Linked DNA regions of Homo sapiens: regions 1, 2, 4, 5 and 6 are each linked to region 3. Evidence: promoter capture Hi-C in 16 types of primary human blood cells and fetal thymus (Javierre and others, 2016). All regions are on one chromosome and are shown on one strand. The core of a region is centred on a gene start or on the middle of the fragment in contact, and the rest is flanking DNA. Distances in the headings are between cores, read along the strand shown. Region 1 has its middle 110 kb from the start of LINC01606. Region 2 has its middle 24 kb from the start of BPNT2. Region 3 holds the start of PENK-AS1 (PENK antisense RNA 1). Region 4 overlaps BPNT2 (3'(2'), 5'-bisphosphate nucleotidase 2). Region 5 has its middle 92 kb from the start of LINC01606. Region 6 has its middle 11 kb from the start of LINC01606.

What was found. Contacts are between HindIII fragments. The CHiCAGO score rates a contact against its expected background, and 5 or more counts as called.
Region 1: a fragment that was not itself captured here is called in contact with the fragment with the promoter of PENK-AS1 in region 3 in 2 of 17 cell types (naive B cells and total B cells); the score reaches 8.8 in naive B cells.
Region 2: a fragment that was not itself captured here is called in contact with the fragment with the promoter of PENK-AS1 in region 3 in 1 of 17 cell types (naive B cells); the score reaches 5.3 in naive B cells.
Region 4: a fragment that was not itself captured here is called in contact with the fragment with the promoter of PENK-AS1 in region 3 in 1 of 17 cell types (naive B cells); the score reaches 6.2 in naive B cells.
Region 5: a contact is called between a fragment that was not itself captured here and the fragment with the promoter of PENK-AS1 in region 3, in 1 of 17 cell types (M2 macrophages). The highest score is 5.3, in M2 macrophages.
Region 6: a contact is called between a fragment that was not itself captured here and the fragment with the promoter of PENK-AS1 in region 3, in 1 of 17 cell types (erythroblasts). The highest score is 6.0, in erythroblasts.

The regions. Positions count from the first base shown.
Region 1 is chr8:57,105,795-57,108,565 of GRCh38, reverse strand. No RefSeq gene overlaps it. Among named protein-coding and RNA genes, the nearest start is that of LINC01606, 110 kb to the left of the region's middle. RefSeq lists an enhancer at 245-831. The HindIII fragment of the contact is 832 bases long and covers 1,037-1,868 here.
Region 2 is chr8:57,016,405-57,019,120 of GRCh38, reverse strand. No RefSeq gene overlaps it. Among named protein-coding and RNA genes, the nearest start is that of BPNT2, 24 kb to the right of the region's middle. The HindIII fragment of the contact is 2,103 bases long and covers 397-2,499 here.
Region 3 is chr8:56,444,263-56,447,234 of GRCh38, reverse strand. It overlaps PENK-AS1 (PENK antisense RNA 1), which reads right to left and starts at 1,428. Exons shown (of 4, transcript NR_125813.1): 1 at 735-1,428. PENK (proenkephalin) reads left to right here and starts at 594. Exons shown (of 4, transcript NM_001135690.3): 1 at 594-666; 2 at 754-809; 3 at 1,279-1,419. The coding sequence starts at 1,282. RefSeq lists an enhancer at 932-1,823. The HindIII fragment of the contact is 3,142 bases long and covers 832-2,972 here.
Region 4 is chr8:56,968,568-56,971,267 of GRCh38, reverse strand. All of the region lies in intron 3 of BPNT2 (3'(2'), 5'-bisphosphate nucleotidase 2), which reads left to right. Among named protein-coding and RNA genes, the nearest start is that of BPNT2, 24 kb to the left of the region's middle. The HindIII fragment of the contact is 1,088 bases long and covers 812-1,899 here.
Region 5 is chr8:57,124,743-57,127,581 of GRCh38, reverse strand. It overlaps the pseudogene RNA5SP266. Among named protein-coding and RNA genes, the nearest start is that of LINC01606, 92 kb to the left of the region's middle. The HindIII fragment of the contact is 1,323 bases long and covers 707-2,029 here.
Region 6 is chr8:57,206,052-57,209,070 of GRCh38, reverse strand. No RefSeq gene overlaps it. Among named protein-coding and RNA genes, the nearest start is that of LINC01606, 11 kb to the left of the region's middle. RefSeq lists an enhancer at 1-239. The HindIII fragment of the contact is 3,082 bases long and covers 175-3,019 here.

The DNA of each region.
Region 1 (2,771 bases), core at 203-2,702, 660 kb before region 3:
TCTAGCTCAGCTCTTTAAACTTTACTCAAAATGAAAATTTTGCTCCTGATGGTTGCATATCAAATCAGTCAGTCTGGTAATTCCAGCGTCTATAGCCACCAGTCAACTAACACTGAGAATGCTGTGGCCGTTTCAGATTAAATGTAGTTTATCAGCAAAAAGCACAGATCTTCTTTGAGAATCACAGCCTAAGATCACTTTGAAGATTGCCTTTTTTCTGAAGATGTCTCACTGGCCCTGGCCACATGACTGTAGTGGGCAGAATTCCAAGATGTGTGCCTGTCTTGCACATGTACTGAGAATCCCCTCGCCTTGAGTGTGGAATGGACTATATTGGAGTATCAGTATTATGATTTAACCAATAATCAATTAGCTTTGAGTTCAAAAGCAGTATAATCCTGGATAACACTGGCATAATGAAAGGAGCCTTTGAGAGAAGGTGAAGCATCCAAGACACACTCTCCTGGGGGCCTCAGAGAAGAAAGCAAACAGCCATGGTATAAACCACCTATGGAGAGGGGCTTTGTCTAGGCTGAAAGCCTCAATTGTATCACCACAAAGAACTTAAGTCCACCAACATGAAAATGAGCTTGGAGGAAGACCCCACACTCTAGGCAAGGACGACAGTGCAGCTGACACCTTCACTGCAGCTTTGGGAGACCCTGAGCAGATGACCCAATCAAGCCAGGCCCATTCCTGACCCATAGAAACAGGAAATTAAATGAGTGTTTTTATAAGCACTGAATTTATGACAATTAGTTATTCACAATAGCAAACCACTACAGTGCCCTACCTGTGGGATCCACATGCTGCCCTCAGTGGTAACAAAGGCTCATAACACCTGCACTGTATTGGTTTCTAACGTCTGCGTGAAAGTTGCATATACCAGGATGGAATCCCTTTCATCAGATCCAGAAAATATAGGTCTGGGAAGGCCCAAAAGAGGGAAGACTCATGTTTATGTGTCTGAAATGTGAACCAAGGACTTTCTAAAAACTCTTTCATGTCCTTCATGCATATTTTGTTTGGATAAGCTTTATCACTAGACATTAGAACTGCAGTATTCAGATAAGATTTTCTTAGAACACTTGCCCAGTAAGGGCATCTCCGCCAATGAACTGACAACCAGTCTGGCTTTGAACCTCTGGAACCAATGGACTCTGATTCTAAGCAGCTTAGTAAATCTCTTTTTAGCTGGTGAAAGGTCCCCATACAACCCTCTCACTGAATGGACTGGTGGCTTGCCATTTCGTGCATTTCAGATTATAATCCTTATTTTTACTTCTGAGTAAACCCAACATAGTTAGAGATAATTGTCCCTAGTGTAATTTTTAGATTGTCATTTGTTTATATGGGAGCACAGCAGAACCACTGAGCTGCCCAGGAAGAAGAGCCCTATAGTCCCTTTCAACTCCATACTGTCAAAAAAATATTAAGTTGCGCCGAGTGTTGATTTGGTGCTATGGTTAAATATGCATAAATAGTCTTATATAGAAAAAGGAAAGTAATATTTACTGAATAGATCTAATGAGTCTTCATTTCACATACACTAATTGCTTGTAATCTTCACAAAACCCTCTAAGACAACTTTTACTTTCCCTATGGTTCAAATGAGGTCATTAAACCTCAGAAAGTTTAAATAACTTACCCTATCATATAACTAGTAGGTAATCGAGCCAGTATTCAAATACTGAGATCCCCTGGACAGAATATCCTATGTTTTTTGGTCTATTTTATCAATAGTATGCTACAGGAATGCAGCTGCCAAACAACAGTCCTTAGAACACTTTTGGTCTAAGTTTAAAGAAGGTCTCAAAATTCAAGCAGTTAAAAACTGCTGCATGACCAGTTAAAAGTGCATTCAAGCTTATCTGCCTTCCTTGAATGCTTTCTCATTAATGCCAGGAGTACATTACATTAGGGCATGACAAGATGATGTGTTAGCTTAGTGGATATTTCCTGTTAACATATTCATTACAGTTAATTACAACATCTTTATTTCTTGGCAGATTTTCTGGAAGCCAAAACAGATGGATTGTTTTTTAAAAGAATATGAAAAGCATGTCATGACAATGATTCCTGTGGTGCATTTTTTTCTTTTTAATTTTCCTAAACATAAAATAAAAATATAGATTTCACAGAGGAACACTTTCAGTGCAATACAACTTCCTTTGAACTTCACATAATAGCTTACACTTATTATCACCTAACCAGCCATCTTTGACTTTATGCAATGGGCAGTGTCCATAAGAGTTCATTAAGTGCATCAATTAAGAGACAAGAAAGAAAAATATACTTTGATATATGAATTTATGTGCACTGATGCTGACACTCTTGCTACCTCTTTGTCATTTACAGTTGACCTTGCATACTTGTAGGGAGCATAGGGCATGTCCCATTTGTACCTTTAGAGTTTCAAGAAGTACTGTATCATTAAAATTATTTAAATGATGAGCCAAGAGATCAGTGAAAGAACTGTATTGTACATTTTTAAATGGTAGTATCATTATTGTAATTGTGAAATTTATTCACAATTATTTTCTTTAAAAAATTTTTAAATTATTTTTAAAATGTTTTGTGGGCACATAGTAGACGTATATATTTATGGGGTACATAAGATGTTCTGATACAGGGATATAATGTGAAGAATGGGGTATCCATTTCCTCAAGCCTTTGTCCTTTGAGTTACAAACAATTTAATTACCTTCTTGAAATTATTTAAAAATATACAATTGAGTTATTGTTGACTATAGTCACCCATTGTGCTATCA
Region 2 (2,716 bases), core at 199-2,698, 570 kb before region 3:
ACCTCTCACTTCTTTCACAAATTCTACTTAGTTATAATATATAATCATCTATACATATTACTGGATTCTCCATGACAACTTTGTTAAGGGCTATTTTGTCCATGTTCATCAGTGGTATTGTTCATAGTTTTCTTTTCTTGCAATGCCTTTGTCTGATTTTGCTATCAGAGTCATGATGGATTCATAAAATGAGTTGGAAAGTATCAACTTATATTTTCTGAAGGAGTTTACAGAATTATATTATTTCAATTTAAAAATTTTACTGATTTTAGCTTCTACATTTATTAGTTCCTTCTTTTACTTATTATTAAATTCAAATTGTTGTTTTTTCTAGTTTATGAAGTCAGAAGCTTAGATTATTAATGTTAGTCTTTTTTCTAACAGTAATTTAAAGCTTTACATTTTGCTTTATGCTCTGCTCTACTTATGTCTCACATGTTTTGATATATTGTGCTTTCTTATCATTCAGTTTGAAATTTTTTTAATGTTTCTTGTGATTATTTGACCCATGTGTTATTAAGGTGTGTGTGTGTGTGTGTGTGTGTGTGTGTAACGTTCTAGTGTTTGGATATATTCCATGTATCTTTTGGTTATTGATTTTTAACTTGAATCTGGTATAGTCAGAAAACATTGCCTGTTTAATTTCAATCTTCTTAAATTTAGTGAAAATTTTATTTCTTTCTTCATTATTTTAATGTTTCCTTTAGACTGCTAATTCTGTCACCTATGTCATTCTTAGTCTGACTCTATTAACTGATTTTTCTCCTCTGTATGTGACATTTTTCTGCTTCTTCACCTCTGTACTAATTTTAATTGGGTGCTTATTATTGTTAATATAATGTTGTTTGTCTAGTTTTGTTAACTTCTTTTAAAAATTGTCACATTTTCTTCCGGTAGGCAGTTAATTTAATTGCAGAACAACTTGACCCTTTTGAAACTTGTTTTTAGGTTTGTTAGGATGAGTTTGGATTAGCCTTTACTCTAAAACTACTTTGGTTCTCCTCTTAAGTAATGACAGCTCTTTGGTCTCTACTGAATGTTCTGGTTGTTCAGCATGGTTGCTTTAGCTGGTTGGCTAGAACTCAATATCCACAACCAGCCCAATGTTATCTACAGTAATGTTCTGCCCTGTATAATGTTTCCTTTCTCATTCACTTGGGGTCACTCTATACCTGCAGAACTGAATAATCAGTCAGAAAGTCAAGAGTACTCAATGCAGGTATCTGGAACTGTTTTTCTGCATCATCCCTTTTACTTTGGACTCTTTCTTATGAATTCCTGTCACCTAACCTTCCCCAGCTCAAGGAGGACTCCACATTCTTCTTCCTCTGGGCTAATTCTGTGCCTGCACGGCCCTGGCAGCAAACATCTCTCTAAATTTTGCATCTTCTGGATCTCACTGGACTTTCCCTCATATGGCCCTGTTCCTGCTTCACTCCTTCCTGTGCCAAAATTCACTAAATGCCTGCAGCAGAAAACAGAGATGACCGCAAGCCTCACCTTGCTTACTTCCCTTCTTTTGGGAGTCAGGATCATGAGCTTCCTGTTGTTGAATGTCTGAGAAGTATTGTTTTTATATATTTTGTCCAGGTTTTTTGTTGTTTAGGCAGGAGTGTGAATTAGTCCCTGTTATTCAATCTTGGCCAGAATAAATGTCTCCTAAACCCTATCTTAAAAATCTAAATAAATGATCCAAAGATTTTTCAAATGATGTTAATAAAATCTACAAAAGCAAAATACAAAAGCATCAATAGAAACTCAAGCAATCACGAAACAAGATAAATTCTTCAAACTTATCCCCAATCAGTAATATATAAATTTTTGTTTTAAATCCTTAATGTATTTAAACATATATTTAATAGCAAAATTATGCAGGCATAGTTTTATCTATTTTATAACTTTATTTTATGTAGCTGTTATGATACTCGTATAGTCTAATTTCAGTGCACTTTAACATTTGTTACTTCTTGTGATCCTAATATAAAACCCATGAGATAGGTAGAGTATCGCTAAACCTGGAAAATAGGTATCTTAATTCCAAATCATTATCAGACTAAACAAATACAATAGATTTAAAAGGCTCTAAAGTCTTTCTGGTTCATATAAATTACCATACTTTGCAGAAACTGCAAATAATAGGGAAGACCAGTAAAACTGAAAGAGGCAGCTGAGGGTTTACATTGAAATAATACTTGAATATCTGCCCGTCTAGGGGGTTTGTCACTTTTCAAATATAAATATAAATGCAGGACATGAGAGTAGATGAGCCTTTACAGGGAAAAACAAAAAGAGGAGTTGTCTAACACCTTAATTCATCTTTTGCAATATTCCTAAGTCAGAAAACACAATAAACATAATAAAAATAATGGTAGCTTTTAATTAGGTACCTGCTGTATGATCAGCTCTGTATTAAGCACTCGTTATAGAATTTAATTCTCACATCAATGCATGTGGTAGCTATTATTACTAGCCACTTTTACAGATGCACAAACTAAAGCTTAGAGGGATTAAGAACCCAACTGAAGTTTATGTAGTTTAAAACTGAGTGAGCCTTCATATGATCCAACTTGAATTTCTGACTTTAAAGCCCACACTCTTAACCATAATTATATCACTACCTCATTAGAAACAAAACAAAACAAAACCCTGCCTTATGGCTTCATGTTGAGACAGAGGTTCTTAATTTTTTCTTTGCCACATTCCTGTTTATGTTAAT
Region 3 (2,972 bases), core at 179-2,678:
GTTCCTGTAACCATTAATTGAGCGCCTAAACTGCGCACCTTGACGCTGTTAGATGCTGCAGTAAGGAACTCGGAGTCAAGTGTGGGGGACAGGTTGGTCAATAAATGACGACATTCCGGACGGCTGTGCTTGGTGCCCACGGGGACCCGCGAGGGGGCCCAGGGAGGAGGCGGGAAAGGGGCAGGTTCACCGGCCCGCTGGGTCTCCAGCACATTCCAGAAGTCTAAGCCAGTCCATCTATCCTTCCAAACGCCCCCACCTCGCTTCCCTCCCTGGAGCCCGCATCCCACGGTGCAATTTCAGTGACTTTATGCGGAGAAACTTGATCCTATCTCACTCTCCCCAAACTTCCTAACTGCCTTGGGTTTGTCACCTGGCCGTGTGGGGAGCCACCGAGCGCCCCCTGTGGCCCCCACCCGAGCTCGGCGGGGGGAGCGGCGCGCGGGTGCTGGGGGACCGACCCCTCCCGCGAAGGCGTCGGCGCGGGGCTGGCGTAGGGCCTGCGTCAGCTGCAGCCCGCCGGCGATTGGGGCGCGCGCGCCTCCTTCGGTTTGGGGCTAATTATAAAGTGGCTCCAGCAGCCGTTAAGCCCCGGGACGGCGAGGCAGGCGCTCAGAGCCCCGCAGCCTGGCCCGTGACCCCGCAGAGACGCTGAGGACCGCGACGGTGAGGCCCTACGTCCGCCAGCACACCCGGGCCCGCTTCTCCCCGACGCCCGCCCTCCTCACACTTGCCTTCTTCTCTTCCCTCTAGAGTCGTGTCTGAACCCGGCTTTTCCAATTGGCCTGCTCCATCCGAACAGCGTCAACGTGAGTGAATTTGCCCGAAGCTTGTCTTTGCTGAGCGGGTTTGGGGACGTCTGCCCGCCCTCTTTCCCTTCACATTTCATTGCATGGGTTCCCCAACAGCGTTCCCTGGTTCTTCTTTGTGACCCCAGTCAATGTCCTGCCTCCCCCGGCTCCCGCTCTCTCGCCCCTGGTCTGCGGCGTTCTCTCCGGAATCTTGCCCTGGGCCGCGGACGCCCAGGAAAAGAGCCGGGTGCCCCAGGCAGCCTCGCGTTGGGGGCGACCGCGCCATCCCGGGAACCGCGAGGCGATCTGAGTCGCCTCCACGTCTACCTAAAAGCTGTCGGCCGGGAGGGCGGGGCCCCAGAAAGGAGCATTCCTGCGGGCTTTTGCTCGACGATCCCCTGCTGAGGCTGTCGCGGCGAGGGTCCTGCCGAGGGACCCCGTTCTGCGCCCAGGCAGGCTCGAAGCACGCGTCCCTCTCTCCTCGCAGTCCATGGCGCGGTTCCTGACACTTTGCACTTGGCTGCTGTTGCTCGGCCCCGGGCTCCTGGCGACCGTGCGGGCCGAATGCAGCCAGGATTGCGCGACGTGCAGCTACCGCCTAGTGCGCCCGGCCGACATCAACTTCCTGGTGAGTGTTGCGCGCGGCGAGTGTTGCGCACCTTGTGAGACAGAGTTTCCGCAACAGTACGCGGACTGCCTCCGGCCCACCGCGCGGCGCGTATGGCGGTTCGCACCGGGTCGGAGCCGCAGCGGCGCGAGCCCGTGGTGACCTGGGTGTCTCAGCTGTTCCTGGAACACTGACTGAAGTCCTGCCCTGGCTCTTAGCTTCGGGGATCCGCGACTATCTGGGGACCGGTAAGGGTAGCGGTGTCGCCGCACAAACCAAGTTTGTTTTAACCCTGGGAATTCGGGAACCCCGAGAAGTCCTCTGTTCAGCACCTCGGATAGCACTGGGTTCTCTCCTGGGCTGTCAGAAGGAAGATGGCTGTCACCACAACTCCTAACATATCCCAGCTAAGGGCCCCTCCACACGCAGTCATCTTCCCATCTTTCCCACAAATAATGTAATTTTTTGTTAGTGACATTTCGGTGCCTTTCTTTAGATTTATGTTCCCCAGCTCTCTTAACCTCAGGTCCCTCATTCCCTACCCTCACCTGTAAATAGGAGAGAGCAAAGGGATGGAAAAGGGGTACGGGGAGAGGAAGGCGAAATAACCGTAGACAGGAAAGAGTTCAAACTGTCTCACTAGCCAGTGATGCTGGAATTCAACTTCTGTTTCAACTGCCCTTTGTAATAGTAACTAAAACAACAGTTTAATTTGGCTATGAGAAAGGAACAAGAGAAGTGGCCAGTGTCCAATGGGTGACAACAGTCCAAAGATACACTGCACTACAGGGGGTTGGGGAAAGAAAAAGCTGAGGACAAAATAACTTTCATTCTGATCATGGTTCCCCATGGGCTGTCGAATCACCTCTGGTGCTCTACTGAGTCTGAATCTCCAACCTCGAGACTCAGGTAGCTTCACTTTTACCAGCTCCCCTGACAATTCCTTTGCATTGCTTTTGAAATTTGTTGAAATTTTATGGTGACTTAAAAAGCTCATAGAGAATAATGTATTCATCCAAGCTGCTTTGGGTTCCACCTGGAATTGAGGAAATTTTACCTTATGTAGATGTTTGAAATGGGGAGAAAACCAAGGAACAGTTTCCAAATATCTGTGGTATATATTTCAGGTTAAATGTTTGTTTCTTTGACCTGTGCTAACTTGGCATTAAAGAGAAGACACATAGGAAGGTTGTATATTTAAACTATGAGAAAAATGTTTCATCTTCAATAGGAGAAACAATCCCCTTCACCCATCTTTCTTCTTTCTCCTGTAGTCATGAGCTTTTAACCTATGCCTAAAAATTGAGCCAGTGCTACAAATATAAGGATAGATCTTGTGGATAAAGAATTTTAGACACAGAAGGAGGAAGAAAAATCCAAAACATGCCACATAGAAGACTCCACTTTCTGACCCCATAATTCCCTGTGCCCAGTCACACATATTTTGAGCTTTGCCTGCTCAACATGTCAGGGGCTCAGCCCCCTCCCCTAGCTTTCTCTGCCATCTGAATAAAGGTTATATGGATTCTAGTCTAATTTTTCTAATCACACAGACTGACCCCAAAGTAGTATCA
Region 4 (2,700 bases), core at 106-2,605, 520 kb before region 3:
GCTTATCTTACAGGTAAAATAAACACATTTTGTAGCTGCTCTTCTGCCTTACCACTATACCTCATTATCATCCATCATTTACATTTATTTAAGCACCTACTGTACTAGACACTTGAAATAATTATGTTCATGTAAGTGTTACTAATAAATGTATTGAGTTTATGTAACATGAAGAACATTTTTAAAAATACTAAGTCAGCAATTCTTACATTATTCTGGTAGTATGTACTGAGATATGCTATAATATTTTTATTCTCTTACACAATACTGACCTCTAGAGATAAAGCACTGTAAATTCACTTCTTAGTAAAACTGGTTTTTGGAATATTTATGAAAAGGATTAAGAGGATTTTTTGTTTTGTTCTCTTCATTTTTTTTTACTTTTATGAATAATTTCAAACAAACGTAAAATTATAATGAATACTTATATACCCCTTCATCCTGATTTAGCAGTTGATAACAGTTTTACATATTTGCTTTCCTATTTTTTGGCCTGTGTACCTTAAAGAAAATTATAAGGATCATAATAAACATTTTACCCTTATACTTCAGTATGCATCTCTAAAAAGTAAGGAGATTTTCTACAAAAGGACAGTATATTAATATAATAAAATTAACAGTTATTTCCTAATGTCATCAAATATTTACATTTCCCCGATTGCTGCTAAAATGGATTTTACAGCTGATTGCTTCAAACCAAGATCCAGTCAACCAACAAGCATTTATTTTGGTTGATAGGTTGTTAAGGTTTCTTAATCTAGAACAACCCCTAGGCCCCTTATGCCCCCCATGACATTGATGTTGGGAAGCTTAAGTCATTTCTCCTTTAGAATGGTCTGTCTTTTGGACTTGTCTGATTGTTTCCAAAGGGTGTCATTTAACTTCTTTATTTTTATATCCTCTTATAAAAAGTGCAGATTAGATCTGAATCCTTGATTGGATTGAGGTTAAGCATTTTTGTCATGAATACATTGTAGGTATTTTTCACATACTTCCTACTGCATCATATTACACAATACTTGTCTCGCCATTCATGATGCTCAGATGATTAAAGTGTTCATGACCTGATCTCTTAGTTACAAAATTTTTATTTTTTTGCTACTAGCAAGTAATCTGGAGAGATTTTGACATCATTTGAGATCCAGTTTTATTAAACCTTTTGCATAATAGTTTTAAGCTCTATTAAAGATGTTATAAAATGAGATTTTCTGTTTCTGTTGTTTCTACATATATTAGCATGAATTCTTCTATAGAGAATTTTCTCTATTAACTGGAATTAATTTGTTTATCCTGAAATGTTTCTTCTAGAAAAGCGGGATAAATGTTTAATTCTTTTACTTTATTTACCAATTTTCAGAGTAAGGAGTTAGAGTATAGAACCCTTCCAGCGGTAACATGTTTTTCCAGGAAGGAACAGGCTTCCTCTCTGTAAAATATTCTTATGATCTTAATGAATTTTATATGTTCAGTGTGGTTCAGACAACTACTGTTATTTTAAGTTAAATTTGTTCTTTTTGTTGCTTTTACTAATGCCTTTATTTATCCTTTTTTCTTTACATACTCATGTAGTCCTTTTCTTTAGACATTGTCTCATTGTCTCTTGGTTCACTACTATAAGCGTCAGTGAAATTAGCATATTTCATCCTTGACCATCATTTCATTTTAGACAGTTGTTTTTTTTTGATGTTTACTTTTCGACTCTGCTGTTCAGCTTGTCAGAGTTAAATGGTGTCCTTTAACTTTTATCAGCCAAGTATGAGAAAACCATTTATACACCTTTATTCTTTTACCTTATTCCCATCTTTGGTTTCCCCTTAAATCCACAGTTAAATTTGTTCAATGGTAACCGACAATGCATTTGCTAAGAGTTTCTCAGTCACCCCTTGGTTGGATAAAGCTTGTCCTGTAATAGATTACCTTAGAAGAGCTAACTCATGGTATGATCTTCCCTGAGTACATGCTAACAACTTTGTCTATAGTCTTGATACTTAAAAGACTACTTGGCTAGTTATACAGTCTTTGGTTCACTCTGTATTAGTTTCCTCGGGCTGTCGTAACAAGTTAACCACAAACTTGAAACAACAGAAAATTATTCTTTCAAAGTTTTGGAGGCCAGAAGTCTGGTATCAAGGAGTCAGTGGGGCCATACTTTCTCTGCAGGCTTGGAGGAAGTTTTCTCTTGCAGCTTCTGGTGGCTCCAGACATTGTTGGCATTCCTTAGTCAGTAGATGCATCACTCCAGCCAGTCTCTGCCTATCTTCACATGACAGTCTCCTTTCTGTCTCCCCTGCTTATAAGGACACCAGTCATTAGATTTAGAGCTCACCTGTCATTAGATTTAGAGCCCACCTTACTCCACTATGACCTCAGCTGAACTAATTGCATTTGCAAAGATCCTGCTTCCAAATGAGTTCACAATCTGAAGGTTCCAAGTGGACATGAAGTTTGGTAGGATACTGTTCATTCAACCCACTAAACTTCAATGATGTAACTATGATGTCTTTTAGAATTGGCATTCTGGGCAAATTTCCCATGTACTCAGTATGTCTCTCAGTGTAGATGTTTAGGTCCTCTCCTAATTTTTTTATTTTGTTAGAGACAAGATCTCACTCTGTTGCCCAGGCTGAAGTGCAGTGGCATGATCATAGCTCACTGCAGCCTTTAACTCTTGGGCTCAACAAGTGATCCTCCGACCTTGGC
Region 5 (2,839 bases), core at 119-2,618, 680 kb before region 3:
TAAAAGGAAAAGCCTCACCAAGTTAGAAATACTTAGTTAGAGGAATTCAGACTTTTCATTGAAGCCCCAAAAAGTTCACATAATAAGGACAAGTTCACTATTTTATAGCTGTAGTTCAAATACATAATAGAAAACACTAGTGCAAAGATATAGAATCAACCTAAGTACCCATTGACCAAAGAGTCAATAAAAAAAATGTGGTATATATACACCGTGGAATACTACTCACCATTAAAAAAAAATGATATAATGTCTTTTGCAGCAACTTTGATGGAGCTGGAAGCCATTATTCTAAGTGAAGTAACTCAGGAATGCAAAGTCAAATATCATATGTTCTCACTTATAAGTGGGAGCTAAGCTATGAGGACGCAAAGGCATAAGAATGACATAATGGACTTTAGGGACTCAGGGAGGAAGGTTGGAAGAAGAGTGAGGGATAAAAGACCACATATTGGGTACAATGTACACTGCTCGGGTGATGGCTGCAATAAAATCTCAGAAATCACCACTAAAGAACTTACCTGTGTGACCAAAAACCACCTGTACCCAAACAACGATTTAAATTTAAAAAGATTTTTTAAATCCTTCAAATCTAAAAACAAACAAAAAAAGGGAAAACACCTGTGCTAATTAATCCCAGGACTAATTAAGGACCAAAACCTTAAAACTAAGGACAAAACTGGAATAGACTAACCTTAGCAAAGCTTAAAACAAGTTTTGAAATAATCAAAGTGAGGTGCCAGGAATTTTTAAAAACTTTTTACTTTTAAATAATTCTAGATTTATAGAAAAGTCACAGACATAGTACAAAGAGTTCTCATAGTCTACCATACCACTCTGAACACACCTGATCTTGTCTGATCTCGGAACCTACGCAGGGTTTGGTCTGGTTAGCACTTGGATGAAAGAGTTCTCATATACACTTCACCCAACTTCCCTAATACTAGCATCTTGCATAATCACAGCACAGTTAATGAAATCAGAAAATTAACATTAATATAATGCTATTAACTAAACTTCAAGCCAGACTTTGTTCAAACTTCACCAGTTTTTTGCTAATCTTCTTTTCTGTTCCCACAGTGTATTCAGTTATATCTTTTTAGTCCCCTCCAATTGGCAATACCTCCTCCAATCCTCATTCTTTCCTTGTTTGCTATGACCTTAATACTTTTGATAATTGCTGATCAGTTATTTCATAGAATGGTCCTTACTTTAGATTTCTCATGATTAGACTGAGATTGATTAGACTGAGATTATGCATTTTATGTGAGAATGGCACAGAAGTGATGTTGTGCCTTTCTTAGTGCAGTATATCAGGTCATACATGCTGTCAATGTGCCTTATTACTGATATTTCTAACCTTGAACACTTGATTAAGACAGTGTGTGCAGTTTCTCCACTGTAAAATTACTATTTTTCTTTTATAATTCACCAATATTTTGTGAGAAATAATTTGAGACTACATATGCTGTTTCTCCCCAACATTAATTTTAGTATCCATTGGTGAATCTTGCCTACAGCAATTATTCTTGTGGTATTTGCCTAATAGTAATTTTGTATTTCCTCCATATCTTCTTCATATATTAATTAGAATTATTCTGTAAGGGAAAGCCTTCTCTTTTCACCCATATATGTATTTATTCAATCACTTATTTATATCCACATGGGGTCATGGATACCTGTTTTATTCTATAAGTTATAATCCACACTATTATTGAGATGGGGGAATTCCCTGATATTCCATGCAGGACATGTGGCAGAGGTGTGGCTACTGTGTTCAGCCACCGTGTGCTCAAACCCCCTATGGGAGGGGGAGCAAGCAGATGGGCAGGTGCAGGAGCCGGGGCACGTGCTGTGGGGCTCCGGTCCCATGGTAGCATCTAGGAGTGGGTGGCTGCCCAAGTGGTGTGATGTGTGTTACAGTGTGCTCTTTCAGCTTTGTCTAAAATAAAATAAAGTAAAATAAAATAAAATATAAATATACCCATGGCTAGTATTCTACAGTGACAAAGGGAATAAACCAAAAGCTTACTTTTAGAAATGCCATTAGTTCTGTGGCTTAGTGTACCTTTTAAATCAATAAAATCATATAAGAGAATCATATATTTCATATCCTCTTCAGCTTATAGGAAAAGTGGCATACTCCTTTCCTTGGCCCTTTACCTGACATCTTCAGAATGCCAGAAGTATAACTTAAGTTCTTGTTTGGCACTCATTTATGCTTCCTCTGAGCAAAGAACTCAGAGATCAGCATTTCCATAATAATTTGTCAAAGACAAAAAAAAATTAGCACCTTGACTTCAAGCGTAATTCTAAGAAAGCTTAATCTTTGCACCCCAGGGAGGAGTTGATCCTGGCACACTGGGGCTTCACCATCTCAATCTGGACATTTCACATTGCCCAAGACCTCAGTTGCACATGGAAGTCACAAAAATACTTAGGAATGTTATTGCTGTTTAGGAATGTTAAAATCTGGACTAATGGAAGGGAAAAAAGTCCAGTCCTGGGTACCATTGTGCTTGATCCAAGTAGTTGTTCCTACCCTGCATTCACAGTAGCAACAGGTATGCAGCTATAATTTACCTGGTAGTCAAGGGACAAATACATCTCTGCTAGACTGGAATGAAGTAGTTATGGAAAACACTATTACAAGTTATAACAATACAATAACAACTGCCACCACCGTTGAATGATTTCTGTGTGCTGGAGACTGTTTTAATTTTTAAAATTAATTCATCTCAATTATCACTGAGAGATAATAACAACTGCAAACACTTTGCATAGTCACTTATCTGCCAGGGGCAATTATTTGTTAACTCATTTAATTGCCACAGGAACT
Region 6 (3,019 bases), core at 466-2,965, 760 kb before region 3:
TGACTGCTTCCACGCTACTACGGCAGGCTTCAGCAGACACGACAGAGACCACGGGGCCTACGAGTGCTTCCCACCTGGCCCTTTACAGGAAGAGCTGGCCAATCCCTGTGTCACACCGTGACCGGAAAGCCCTAATACTCACCGCTCATCTTCTGACTCCCCTGCTCAAAAGCTTCCCATGATTTTCTGCAGGAAACCTGGCTGGCTCCCTATCCACGGAATTTCTTTCTTCTTTCTCGCTGGAGAAATGCAAGGTTATCGTGATCTTTATCACTCCCTCAACCCACCCCAGCTCCCGAAGGAGGAATGATCATTCTAAGCTCATCACAGCAATCACATGGTTTTCCCCAGTGACCGGCTTAGCAGTCGGCATGTGCTGTAACCCAGCCCATACGATGTTACCAGAAGTTCACCGCGAGCTGCTGACTTGACTGCCTCTTCAAAAGACACCTGGGAAGAAAAGCAACCCCTCCAGCCTTCGGATACTGCCTTCAGAGAACACACCAACTGCAGCTGTTGCTACTCGGCCCGCCAGCAAAGCAGACATGAACTAAACACTGCCCACAGCACAGCTGGAAGGGAAAACATGAGCATGACACGACGATGCTGACACAATTCTGGTGCCTATGGCTTCAGCCGCTCTTACTTGGGTCATCTACTATTTACAGCCACGAGCATCCTGAGAATGTGGCCGTGGCCCACAGAATATATCCTCTACCCCTTCTGCTCTGGACCGCTCAAAAATCTACCCTCAGCTCGCCTTTTCTAGACATTCAAACCACACCCAACCATTCCCGTACCACACTCTTGCCACCAGCAACACTGAGCTGCTCTCGAACCCGACAGAGTTCACGCGAGCCTCTGACCTTTGGAACTTGCCATTCCTTCGGGCAAGCAGGCAATCTTTTCCCGATGCTCCTGCGAATCCTGCGACCTTCTCAGACGTTCTCTCCACCATACCTGTTCTCTCCGTTCCACCCTGCCAGATGTCTATTCGGACAAAACGTTCCGTCTTCTCGCATGTCTCCTCTGCCAAACCACGGATCCCGTCACATGGCTCTTCTGCAAAACATTCGATCTCGTCAGATGTGTCTTCCGCCAACCACTCCATCCTGCCAGATGTTTCTGTGTTACCGTGGGCGGCTGGTCAGACAGGAGCAGCGCGGGAGAGGGCCACGCCCACACCCCACCAGACACATCAGGCGACCAGGAGGCGACGGGTCAGGCTGCCATTAAACTACCTGTCTCAAATAATAAATGATTGCCGGGAGCCGGTGCCAGGGACGGGCGGTCCCCCAGACAGACAGAAACCCCGGAAGGTGGCGATTAGCAGCTCCCTGAGAAGATCTCAGGGGGCGCGTGACGGGGCTCATGCTTGCACACTCACAGGCAAACCGGCCGGGTTTTACTGTCCTACGACCCTCCCCAGGCAACATCCGACTGCCAAGGGAGGCACGCCTCATGTGAGCGCCCCTATGACTCCAGGAAACACGCCACGCCTGCGGTCCCTCCCAGGTGATGACAGGCCACTGCCCATGTGGATGGCCCACCCTGAGAAAAGGCTCAGGGGAGGAAGCAATGCAACCCCTGGCTCTTGGAAGCCTGCCAATGTGTGAGACCTCGCCTCAAAGGTCGAACAAAGCGTGCCCCCGACCTCTCCAGTTGCCCACATGGCCCTCTTCCAAGTATACCTTACTGCCTCGTCTTTCTGCTCTGGTACCATCTGGGAGACCTGCACTCCTGCGCTCAAACAGGCCTCGGTCTCTTTCACTCCGCCTCACGCCCCTCAGTTAAACTCCCTCTGATGAGGTGAGAGCTCGGGTTGCTGCCTGCAGGCCCCTATGGATCTGCCACCGCTGACATCCCTACCGCCAAACGCTCCATCTTGGTGGATGTTTTCTCTCCCAGATGTTCCCTCTTTCCAGATGCTTCCTTTGCAAGCCACGCACTCTTCCTAGGCATTCCGTCTGCCCACCATGGAATCTGCTCAGAGGTTCCTTCTGCCCACCGTGCGACCTGCTAAAGGGTTTCTGCTGTCTACCATGTCATCTTCACACTTGGGCCTTCTGCCAAACGTGCAATCTACCTGAGGGTTCCCTCTGCCAAACAGCCAGTTGCGTCCACTTCTTCCCCTGACAAGCATTCAGTTTTGTCTGGCGCACCATGGGCCCAATACTTCCTCTACCCAGATGTCTCTTGGGCAGGCCTTGCAATCTCCCTAGGGCATCCAACTGCTGATCCCGCAGTCTTCTCACGGGTTCCCTTGCCCCCCAGCACCCCTGCAATCACCCTACCCTAAGGTTTCCTCCTGCTGACCATGCGATGTTCTTAGCCGTTCCTTCTGAAATCGCTGCAGTCTGCTTAGATGTTCCCTCTGCCACACGCTCAGGGCTGTCAGATGTTCCTTCCACCAGACACTCCATCTCGTCGGATGATCTGCCACGCGTTCAATCCTGTCAGGTGTCCCTCTCAGTCACACGTGTGGAGCGGGGCCCGAGAGGGTTCCCCACCACCAGTAAACATCAGGCAGCCACAAGGTGATGGCCCGGTGGTCACGAAGCAGACTCTCTAGAGAAATCACTGATCACAGGCAGCACCAGGGAAAGGCAGTCCCCCTCCCCGACAGCAGTCACGAACCTCAGAAGCCTCCCCAGCACACCTCGGGAGTTGGGTGAATGGGCTCATACGTGCACCCTGAGAGGCAAACTGGTGGAAGGTTCACTGATCTGGGATGTTTTCCCCTGGGCACATTCATCTGCTTGTGGGACGAACGCCTCAAGAGAGCATGAGAACAACTCCAGTAAGCACACGGCGCCTCCGCGCCCCCATGAGATGGTGACAGGCCACTGTGCTAGTGAACAGCCCCCTCTTCCCCGCCGAGGGAAGCATCAGAGGACAGGCAGCGATGCTGCCGACGCGGGAGACCCTGAGTCCAAGGTCCAGTCCTGTACTCCACCTCTCAGGTCACCGCCCACCTGGGCCTCTTCCAAGCCTCCTTGACTTCCTTTGGCTCCTGCCA